Linked DNA regions of Homo sapiens: region 2 is linked to region 1. Evidence: promoter capture Hi-C in 16 types of primary human blood cells and fetal thymus (Javierre and others, 2016). All regions are on one chromosome and are shown on one strand. Each heading gives the region's core, a stretch centred on a gene start or on the middle of the fragment in contact. The rest is flanking DNA. Distances are from core to core; before and after follow the strand shown. Region 1 holds the start of ANKRD50 (ankyrin repeat domain containing 50). Region 2 has its middle 230 kb from the start of LINC02516.

Region 1 (4,983 bases), core at 1-2,500:
CCCTAATTCTGGAGAATTTATACTCTGCCTCTTTTGCTTGTGTTTTAGGAAAGAAGCCCAAAATTCAGGGTACATGAATTAAAATTAAATACTAAGATCAGTAAACCTCAATTGGCACGAATAAACAATATGAAAGAGTAAGCACAAACACGATCTATTTGTTTATCCATCTTTCTTATTGTGATAGCTATACTATGAAATTTCTAAAACTAGATGGGAGACTGGCTTAATATTTTGGCAAATAACCACATGCAAGTTAATGAGGAATGGGAAATAGAGCACTCTGGATTTTAGCATAAACAATTAAAATAAAAAATGCTACATTTCCTATTCCATCAGTTGACGGTATACTTATTTTCCCGGGAGAAATTTGGAATCTAAGCAACTCAGGTCCAGTAAGTGCAAACAACTGACATGCTTAGTCCAACAGGCCCCTGTGAGCAGGCCCTCTAGGGCATTTCCTGACGCCACATGACCAAGACCTTCCCCCCTAGTGGACGCTGCGGGTGATCAAGTGGCCCTGAGGAGCAGGGGCCTGAGACCCAGTCAAGCCTGCTGTCAACCTCCATCTGATGGAGGCCACGTCCTTTTCATGAGGCTGGTAGGAATGTCGCTGTATACCCCCACTATTTCTATTTTCGCAACATTCTTCCCAGTCTTTTCCTTCCTTCTCTTCGTCCCAGCCAAAGTAAAAGCATCCCTGGAATTTAATGGACTGAAAGGAGACCGGACGACTGAGGGGTAGAACGGGGCCCGAAGTGGCTTTGGAAGCAACGGGGTTAAGGGAGAGGCAAAAGGGTTGAGCAGAGAGAGGCAAGAGGCAATCTCCCCCTACCCAACTGCCCCTCCCAGGAGCAGATACGGCACCAACAGCCGGCGAGTCCCTCCGGCCTGGAAGACAAAGGAAGGATCAGGGCCCAGTGGTGACGGGGAGGGTGGGGGCAACGACTCGCGTGAGCTCGGAGACGTGAGAACGCAGCCCCCGCCCCGTTCTCCGCCTCCCCTGAGAAAGGCGGGGCCCCCACGCCGCCCCGAGACAGGTCTCCCCGCCGCGCCGGCAGCGGGTCCCAGGCGGCCGCACACGCCCAGGCACGGGATGCTGCGGGAGAGCGCGGTGGGGGAGGGGAAGGACGCGGAGGCGGAGCCGGCGGGCAAAGAAAGGCCGAGCGGCGGGGCGGGGGCGGGGGCGGGGGCGGGGTCTGGGCTGGGCGGGCGGGGCGGAGCCGGCCGGCCGGGGGCTGCCTGAGACAGTTACTGCCCTGACGGCGGCGGCGGCGGCGGTTGGCCGGTGGGGGCTGGGGCGAGCACGACCGATTCTGCTGGGAAAGCTGGAACTGGCAGCCGCCGGGGGCCAAGAGGAGGATCCGGAGCTGGGAGCGTGCCCCGGGCCCGGCGGAGGAGGCGGCTGCAGTTGGAGTGGAGTCTTGGGAGCGCTGCTGGCAGCGACTTCTCAGCGAAGCAAGTGTCTGAGACTGAGAGTCCCTAACAGCGGCAGCGGCGGCCACGGCGGCGGCTGGGGCCGAGGTAACCGGGGGGCGGCGGCGGCGGTGGAAGCGAGGCCCCTCCCTCGGGTTGGAAGCTGGGAGGCCGAGGCCGTGGCTTGGACCTGACCCAACCACCCACCCTCTCCGGCCTCGAGCCCCAGATTTGCCCTCTTCCCTCGCACCGCCGTCGGCCGGGTGGGAGCGGGAGCGGGGCATGGGGCGGGAGCGCAGAGGCGGAAGCCGACCGGGAGGCGACCCCTCGTCTGGGATTGGCAAGGACCTCAGTCACCCCCTCCCCCTTCAAAAGACACACCCCAATCTCGGTGCGGGGCGGGGTGCAGAGGCGCTCCCAGCCTCTGGAAGGGCAGACCTCGGTGTGGAGGCTGCACCTTCGCTCGTGGCCTCTCTGAGGTGGCTCCCCTGTGGCTCCTCTGGGCGGTTCCAACCCAAGGTGGTGCCCGGCGCTGGGAATCCCGGAGTTCCTTTTGTCTGTCAGCTGAAACTGGAGGCCGGACCTGTGGGCAGACACCCACCAGCACCGAAGCACTCTACTCTTTATCCCTTTCCTGTCTTGGAAGGAATTTCTCTCTAGCAGCCTTTTCTCCGGCCAGACTGGTAGATTTTATCCCTGACCTCCATCCTTGGCCCAGAGGAAGGAAGGATTCACATTTTACTTGTGTTTGCTTTATCATTCTTATAAGAACAGTCATCCCCCATCGTTTTTGTTTTTTTTTTTTAAACCGTTTCCCATCCAGCTGCAACCCTGGTAATCTTCCCCTAGATTTTTGCACATTATCAACAAAGAAGTGTGGCTGGAGGAGTAGACAGTCCTTGACTGACTGGACTGTGTAAGTTAATAGAGCTTCCTTAGCTGGCGCTGTTCTACCAGTCTACTGTGAATGAGCGTTTTGCCTGGAGTTAAGGGTGTTACTGTATGTGCGTAAAGTTTCTCCCCCCCTCCTTTGCTATGGTGAAGTTGCAAAAATCTTGGGTAACTTGATTAAAATGTGGCTGTTTGGGAAGCATAACAATGAGGAAGAAAAATGCAGAAGGGAGAATGTGATTATTTCAGTGGTTTTTGTCCAACTTTTTGAAAGTGCCAAAGGTGAAGTACGTGGATTTTTGAGATTACGTTAACTGGTACACTGCAACCTTTATTGTCCTTAATAAGTTTTTAACATATGATATTTTGCACTGAGGTATTTTTGTTTGTTTTATTTTAGTTACTTGTGGAAATTGTTGATTACCCGGACGTCTTAAAACCAAGAAACCTGTGAACAGGTTCATTAAGAATCTGCTGTCTTGAAAAATGCATATTATGAATGCTTTGAATTAAGAAGGTGTTAACAGTGGTTGTCATTTCTGCCACATAAGAGACTATAATCTGAAACAGTTCCTGGCAGTTGCCCAGATGCCTGAAACTGGCACGATCTAGTACTCTTGAGTGATCATCCTTCAACGAGAAATACAGAGCTACTTACATACTGTACCTCATACCGTATAAATGTAATCTCTCTGATGCCATTTAATGCAGTGGACCTCTTTTCAGAATCTAATTGTCAGATGCAGAATTAACACTTGGAATCTGGAGAAGCATTTTGTACAAATTGAAAGATTGGGTTTTTTCTTTAGTTTTCCACATGTATTGTCTCATCTCTGTTCTTGAAACATCCACAATCACATAAACTCCAGTTATAACCATGGAGTTATGTGACTCATTAAAATTTAGGAAAAGTGTTGCTGAGCTGTGGAATCAGGCGTTTCTCCCTCAGTTCAACAACTAATACATAGACTGCTGATCAAGAATAAGGAACCAAATAAAGTCATGCACGTTCTGTTGACAGAGGAACTCTGTGGCTGTTGAATTTTACTGTAACTAGTTACTCTGTCTTCAGAGTCAACTTAATATACAAGTTATGTCATAATGGATGGAAAGACCTGTGTTGATGTATCCAGACTCTAGCAAATGAAGATAAAAAACCCGTTATGACTAATCCTTGGGAAGAGAAAGTCTGCAAAATGGCTCAAACCAGTTTACTGCAAGGGAAGCAGTTTTACTGTAGGGAGTGGGTTTTCCACAAGCTTCAGCATTGCCTCCAGGAGAAAAGTAACTGCTGCAATAGTGCTGTCAATGCACCATCACTTGTAATGAATTCTGGGAATAATGCTAGTGGTGTCTCTGGAAAGGGAGCTGCCTGGGGTGTGTTGTTGGTAGGAGGGCCTGGCAGTGGCAAGACGGCCCTATGTACTGAACTCTTATGGCCAAGTTCACCTGCAAGTTTGCAGAGAGGTTTACATCGCCAAGCTTTGGCCTTTCATTTCTGCAAAGCCCAGGACTCTGATACTTTGTGTGTTGGAGGGTTTATTAGAGGTCTAGTAGCCCAGATCTGCCGCAGTGGACTACTCCAAGGATATGAGGACAAGCTAAGGGATCCAGCAGTCCAAAGCCTCTTACAGCCTGGGGAGTGCGAGAGAAACCCAGCCGAAGCATTTAAAAGGTAACAATAAAAATGTCATGGTGTTCAGATTTCTATGCTGAAATTAAATTAATTTTTAGTTGTAGTTTTTTGTTTTAACTTTGTGGGTTACTTTTACTGGTGCTGTACATTTGGCCTTAATCTGAAGTTATGAGTATACCTGTTTACTTTGAATATCAAAGGAAGTAAAATTTAGGTTTTGGTATTGCACAGCATATGGATTAAAATGGATTAAAAGTGTATCTTAATTTTACTTAATAACATAATGTTACTTACATTGCCTATAAATGGTAAGGGAAATTTGTTCTTATGGTAGAGAAGCACATTTAGCTGTCTGGAAATAGGTTACATTTTCAGAGGGTGAACTGAACTTAGAGTAATTATCAGTATAGCATCTAGTATCTTTTTATTTTTTTCCTTATAGTAGTAGTATTTTTTTAAGTAAGAAAGGTTTTCTTTAAAGGAGATTATTGGCCACTGAGAATCTGAAGAAAATTTGCTGATGAGTTTTGGGATTTATTCTCCTATTAACTAACTAATTGAAAAACTGGTATTTAGAAGTATGTGAATTTATAAAATAGCGAACATTTGGGATCATCTTACTACTTTTACTTTTAGTGAGTGGTACAAAGAAAGTGTTTTTTCCTAACTTCAGCAAAGCTTTTTTTCCATGGTAAATGGATTGGTCCAGGAAGTGAGCAAGTTGCTTTCCAGAGTGGTTTCAGATTCAAATCTGTTCAAGAAAATATAATTCCTTGAAAACATTTTTTTTTGCATATCATGCCTCTGCTCATTGTAAAAGTAGCAGGCAAATTGTTAGTTTGTGCTTCACTTCTGCTTGAATTACCCATTTTGCCATAAGCTTTTTCTCTACAATAACATTCTTAGCGGGCAAAAGTTTGTTCTCCAAAGATTCTGGTATACTGTGCACTGGAGGTTTGTGTGTGTGTGTGTGTGTGGCTCTCTTCTGCTTGAGTGTGTTTCTAGGAGAGATTTGAATCACTCTAAAAAGAGTGATGTTT
Region 2 (4,983 bases), core at 678-3,177, 380 kb after region 1:
GACAGTTAATTAATTTTCCTTTACCTTAACGCTATTATCTATAATCTATAAAGCAAGTATAGCGTTAATCCAAACATGCATGGATTATTATGTGACTTAAGTGAATTGAGGTATTTTACGTATAAACTATACATTTATGTATATACATACAAACACATGTGCACACACATAAAAGAGCAACCTGAACCCAGGGAGTGCATAATACATATTATTTATTATTAGTCGACATAGTTATTAAGATTTGTAATGTTTTTTCACTTGTTGGGCAGAAGACAAAATGACTGCTTTTGTTCATCTGAGCCCTCTGGACACTGTATCATTATTTTCTCAGTATACAGATGAACACTGCTTCTTTGCTCCTTCTCCATCTTCTTGGCTCAAACAATTACTAACACTTGTTTCTAAGTAGATTCTAAATTGCAGAGAACAAGAGGCTTTAACTATTTTGGTTGTGAGATACCCCATGAAATGGAAGCTTGACATAAGAATATGGAAGTAGTAATGTGGAAGAAACACAATCTCACTCTTTCATCAACAGGAATTTTAGGGGCCTGTTATTGGCATGACTCTACTGTACCTTTGTTTTCTACTTCAATCTAAATGTCTTTGTCTTTCTGCCAATGGCTGGTTGATTTCTTCTAGTTTTCTGAACCCAAATTGGGAAGCTGAGAATAGCTTTGCTAAGTAATGATGCATCTGCGGGACAAGTTGGGCAATATACCCTCCTGTGGCCCATCTCCAGATTGGCTAAGCCTTGTCAAAGGCCAGCTGCCAGTGCAGGAGTTGTTAAAATTGATAGTGCATCAGAATCACCTGGAGGGGTTGTTAAAAGACAGATTGCTGGCCCCCACCCCTCACAGTTTTCAATTAGGAGGTCTATGAGTGGGGTTTGGGTATTTGCATTTCTCAGAGGCCTCCAGCTGATGCTTATGTCTTTATTCCAGTGACTACACTTTAAACCACCAGTCCAAAAGCAGTGACCCACTCTTTCTTAAGAAATGATTTAGGCTGCTTCCCTCTGCAGTGGAGGGGAGAATGTAAAAGAAACACTGTCCTTGGAAGAGGAAGTCAGTATGACAAAGTATCAAGTAAACTATACCTCAATAAAACTGATTAAAAATTAAAAGCTCGGTAAAACAGGCATTCTCTTTCTTCCTGTAATCCACTGATAGTTGCCCTCAATCAGAATCATGATCTCCTTCACTGCATTCCCTTGTCTCTGAACCAAGGTTATTTAACTTACATTTTTCTGATCTTTTTTTAGAAAATGACTCCATTCATCTACTCTCCTATTACACTTTATCTATTAGATCTCTCTCAAGCATATCTAGAAAGCACTTCAATATTGCAGAGTTTGGTGTAGTCACCTTAAAAACATAGATAGGAAAGTAACACTCTGTTAGTCATTTGTCAGTAGACACTAAAAAAGATGTATAAGTTGAAACATAATCGTTGTTAAAGTTTATAGGAGGCCATTGGTTTAAACTAGCCTCCTGCACTCAGCCCCAGTAGACCAGAATGGACCAAGCCAGAATGGAGTCACTTATGCTTAGTGCCACTTAATCAAACTGAACTTTGAAACAGGCCAGTTTTCCAAAAAACAGGAGATCCCAGTGCTACTACCCTTTACGTAGCAAGGTGACTCTTGGCAAATGTCTCTTCTGAGATTCAGTTTCCTTATCTAAAAATGAGATTAGAAATGTCCTGCTCAATGTACTGTTGTAATAAACTCAAGTAAACAAACGTCCCTGGGACATAGTCAGTTTCATAGTATTAGTTCCCTTCTCTCTTTATTCCCCCTCTGAATTTGAATTGGAAAGATTGTAACGTGCAGAAGCATCAAAGTTCACACTTCATTTTTCACAGCTATACAAAGGCCAAGATAAAGCAACGTAAACATGACACCTACAACTAGACTTCTCAGATTTATGTGTTAGTTTGGTAGGCTTTTTTTTTAACCTCTTATGTATTGAAATATGAAAACTCTTAAGATAATCTGAACATATGTCTTCCAGGGCACTTGAATTACTAAATTAATAAAATGGTTAATATTTGTGGATATCTATTATAGACTTAAAGTGATTTAAATGTTTAACATTTAAATTAAGAAATAGAAAAGAAAAACTCAAAATCAAACAACCTTACCAAATCATGTTGATAATGCACAGGTTTTCGGGAAATTCTCCTTTCTGAGCTACCCCCCACTCTTCCTCAAGCCAATGTTTCTCTGAGCATGAATACACCTCCTCAACAAGATTATAAAACAGGTCAAAAATACAGGAAGACATCTGGAAATGGGCAAGTGTTTCAATAAATTAAAAAATGTATCAATTTTATATTGGCACTTCTGTGTGGTTATTTTCACAGCTAAATGGCTATATTAAAACACATAGATAATAGAGATGAACACCACCACTGTGTAAACATTGAAAGCACACTTCCATGCTTGTAAAGAGCAAGGTCATTTATCTTTCCTGTCAGTTCAAGAGGAACACTCTTGGGTAAAACTTCTCTGCTCATGATGTCTGAAGTTTCTGAATTATGTTTTGAGGCACAGCCTGGTGCAAAATGAATTTGTAAAGTAAGTGACCTTTGTATTTGGTATGTATCAGCTACTACTGCATTTCTGCTCCTTTGCATTTGGAAGCCATTTTTAAACTGAGAAAGCATGTGTCCAGGTTCAATGTTCTGCTCTCTAGATGGAAAATGGAGACAAACAACATGCTTTTGCCCTTGGGGAAACAGACCAAGTTCATAATGAATCCTCCAGTTACATAACTTCAACTTCCTACTGTCATCTCCCATTCAGAAGCCCCTCAAGCTCCTAATATTCAACCTGCACTCAATTTATTCTGTTCCCAATGAGCCACCCCCTCTCCACCTTCAGCCTCACCTATATAATTGCCCTTCAGGAAATTGTGTTGCTGCGCTTTTAGCAGCTAAGCCTGGGAGCATCCCTGGGAACTCTCTCTTCCTCAGACTCTCTCATCAAACCTACTGCCACTTCCATCTCCTATATACCTCCTAAGAGTCTATTTTTCATTGTCAGTGCCACCACCTTTGAACAGCTTCCTAACTGTTCCCCTGCATTCACTCTGCAACCAGAGAGATCATTTATAACACACATTGCTAACAGTTTCCAATGTCTGTCTATTGTCCTGAGGATAGTCCAGTTTCTTTAGATCTGCAATAGGACTATGCCTGTCTCTTGCCTTATGCTTTTTCACTCCTTTCCTATCTTTCTCTTTCTCTCAATATGGAAATCTTCTGTTTATTTGAAAGCATGCTTTTCTCTCTCTTCTCTGGGCTCTTGTACTGGCTGAAACGTTTAACTAGAGGAATCTATATCAATTCATCTGAGTAGTCCCAGAAAAGCTTCCATTTTCAGCAAGATATTATTTCCCTAGGGATGCCTGACCCCTACTTCCTCCACTCAACCATCCCTATTGCCACCCCACTCCTATCCTTACCCATTCACGTCTCCCCATATGGTTAGATAATTTGGTTTCATGGCCTCATACTTAGAAACAAATCATATTTGGGGGTATTCATAATTTAAAGCACACTCCTGAAATAATATTGGCTCATTGTGAAATGTGTTCTGATCCTCTAGTCTCATCTCACATCCAGTCACTTTCCTACACTCTCACCACTTCCCATTTTTATATCGTTTGCCTGCCTCTTTTTACTAGCATTTTAAATACTTTCATTCCCTTTGCAACAGACACTGATGAAGGAGTGATGTTTGTAAAGTATTTCAAAACATCTTAAGATTAAACACAGCATACACAATACTATAGCAGAGACTAAACTTACTGCCCACAACCACTAACACCTATAGGAAGGTCATAGCAGTGATAAGGGTTAGATTCCTTTCTATCTATTGAGGACCTTTCTATCTAAATAGAAGACCTTCTGTATTAAAATCTTTTGTGCACCTCCACCCAACTACCAACAGTCTACAAATTATTTTCGAGGTTGGTATTCACTGACTATGTTGACAGAATTCAAGATTACCCATAGGGTGTGTGGGGCCCCAGACAAATATATTTGTGTGGTCTCTGTCTGTATAAATAATTTATTAAGAACAAAATTCATGGACCCATGTGCAATTTAGTAATTTACTGATTAAGGTTAAGAATAATGGGCAGAGAGACAATGTATTTACATATTTGTTTGTTGTCCAATCACTGCTCATGAAGATTCTTCATTGTGCCCATTTATTTCATTATCTCCTCCTCTTCCACCTCTCCCTTCTCCTTCTCCCTTCTTCTCTTTTAAACAATGCACCATTTCTGGCTAATTTCGTATTTCCTACTGCAAGAAAAAGTATCATGCCATTATTCCAATCCCATGGCTCTTTGGAAGTTGTCTGCATTGGAAACAATATAGCTCCTCATGCCACTACAGTTCCCTAATTCCATTTGGTTATTATTGGTTACATCATTAATCATGATGATGCACCATCCATAGTGCTATCCATGGATACTGGCTCCCACTGACTAAAAATTTGTTAGTCCACTTTATTGTCTATGCCCTCAAATGTAAGTGAATGTTAATTCATTTCTGGTCACATTAAATCTATTTTATAAAGTTTATAGCATAACTTAGAATAATATAATTATATCCATATTTTCTCTTGAATATTTTTGGCTATGATCACTACATTCTTTTTAAAAAATTATTTGTGTATTTATTTATTTAATTTTTATTTTACTTTAAGTTTCAGGAGACCTGTAGAATGTGCAGGTTTGTTACAAAGTCATATGTGTGCTGTGGTGGTTTGCTGCACCTATCAACCCATGATCTAGGTGGGGTTTTTTTTGTTTGTTTTATTTGTTAGTTTGTTTGTTTTATTCATTTTTTGAAATGGAGTTTCACCTTGTTGCCCAGGCTGGAGTGCAGTGGTGTGATCTCGGCTCACTGTAACCTCCATCTCCCAGGTTCAAGCAATTCTCGTGCCTCAGCCTCCTGAGTAGCTGG

The links. Contacts are between HindIII fragments. The CHiCAGO score rates a contact against its expected background, and 5 or more counts as called.
Region 2: a fragment that was not itself captured here is called in contact with the fragment with the promoter of ANKRD50 in region 1 in 1 of 17 cell types (endothelial precursors); the score reaches 9.7 in endothelial precursors.

What each region holds. Positions count from the first base shown.
Region 1 is chr4:124,708,999-124,713,981 of GRCh38, reverse strand. ANKRD50 (ankyrin repeat domain containing 50) reads left to right here and starts at 1,250. Exons shown (of 5, transcript NM_020337.3): 1 at 1,250-1,524; 2 at 2,708-3,982. The coding sequence starts at 3,471. RefSeq lists enhancers at 711-1,276, 1,277-1,842 and silencers at 994-1,373, 1,524-1,763. The HindIII fragment of the contact is 8,904 bases long and covers 1-3,568 here.
Region 2 is chr4:124,326,822-124,331,804 of GRCh38, reverse strand. No RefSeq gene overlaps it. Among named protein-coding and RNA genes, the nearest start is that of LINC02516, 230 kb to the left of the region's middle. The HindIII fragment of the contact is 2,900 bases long and covers 478-3,377 here.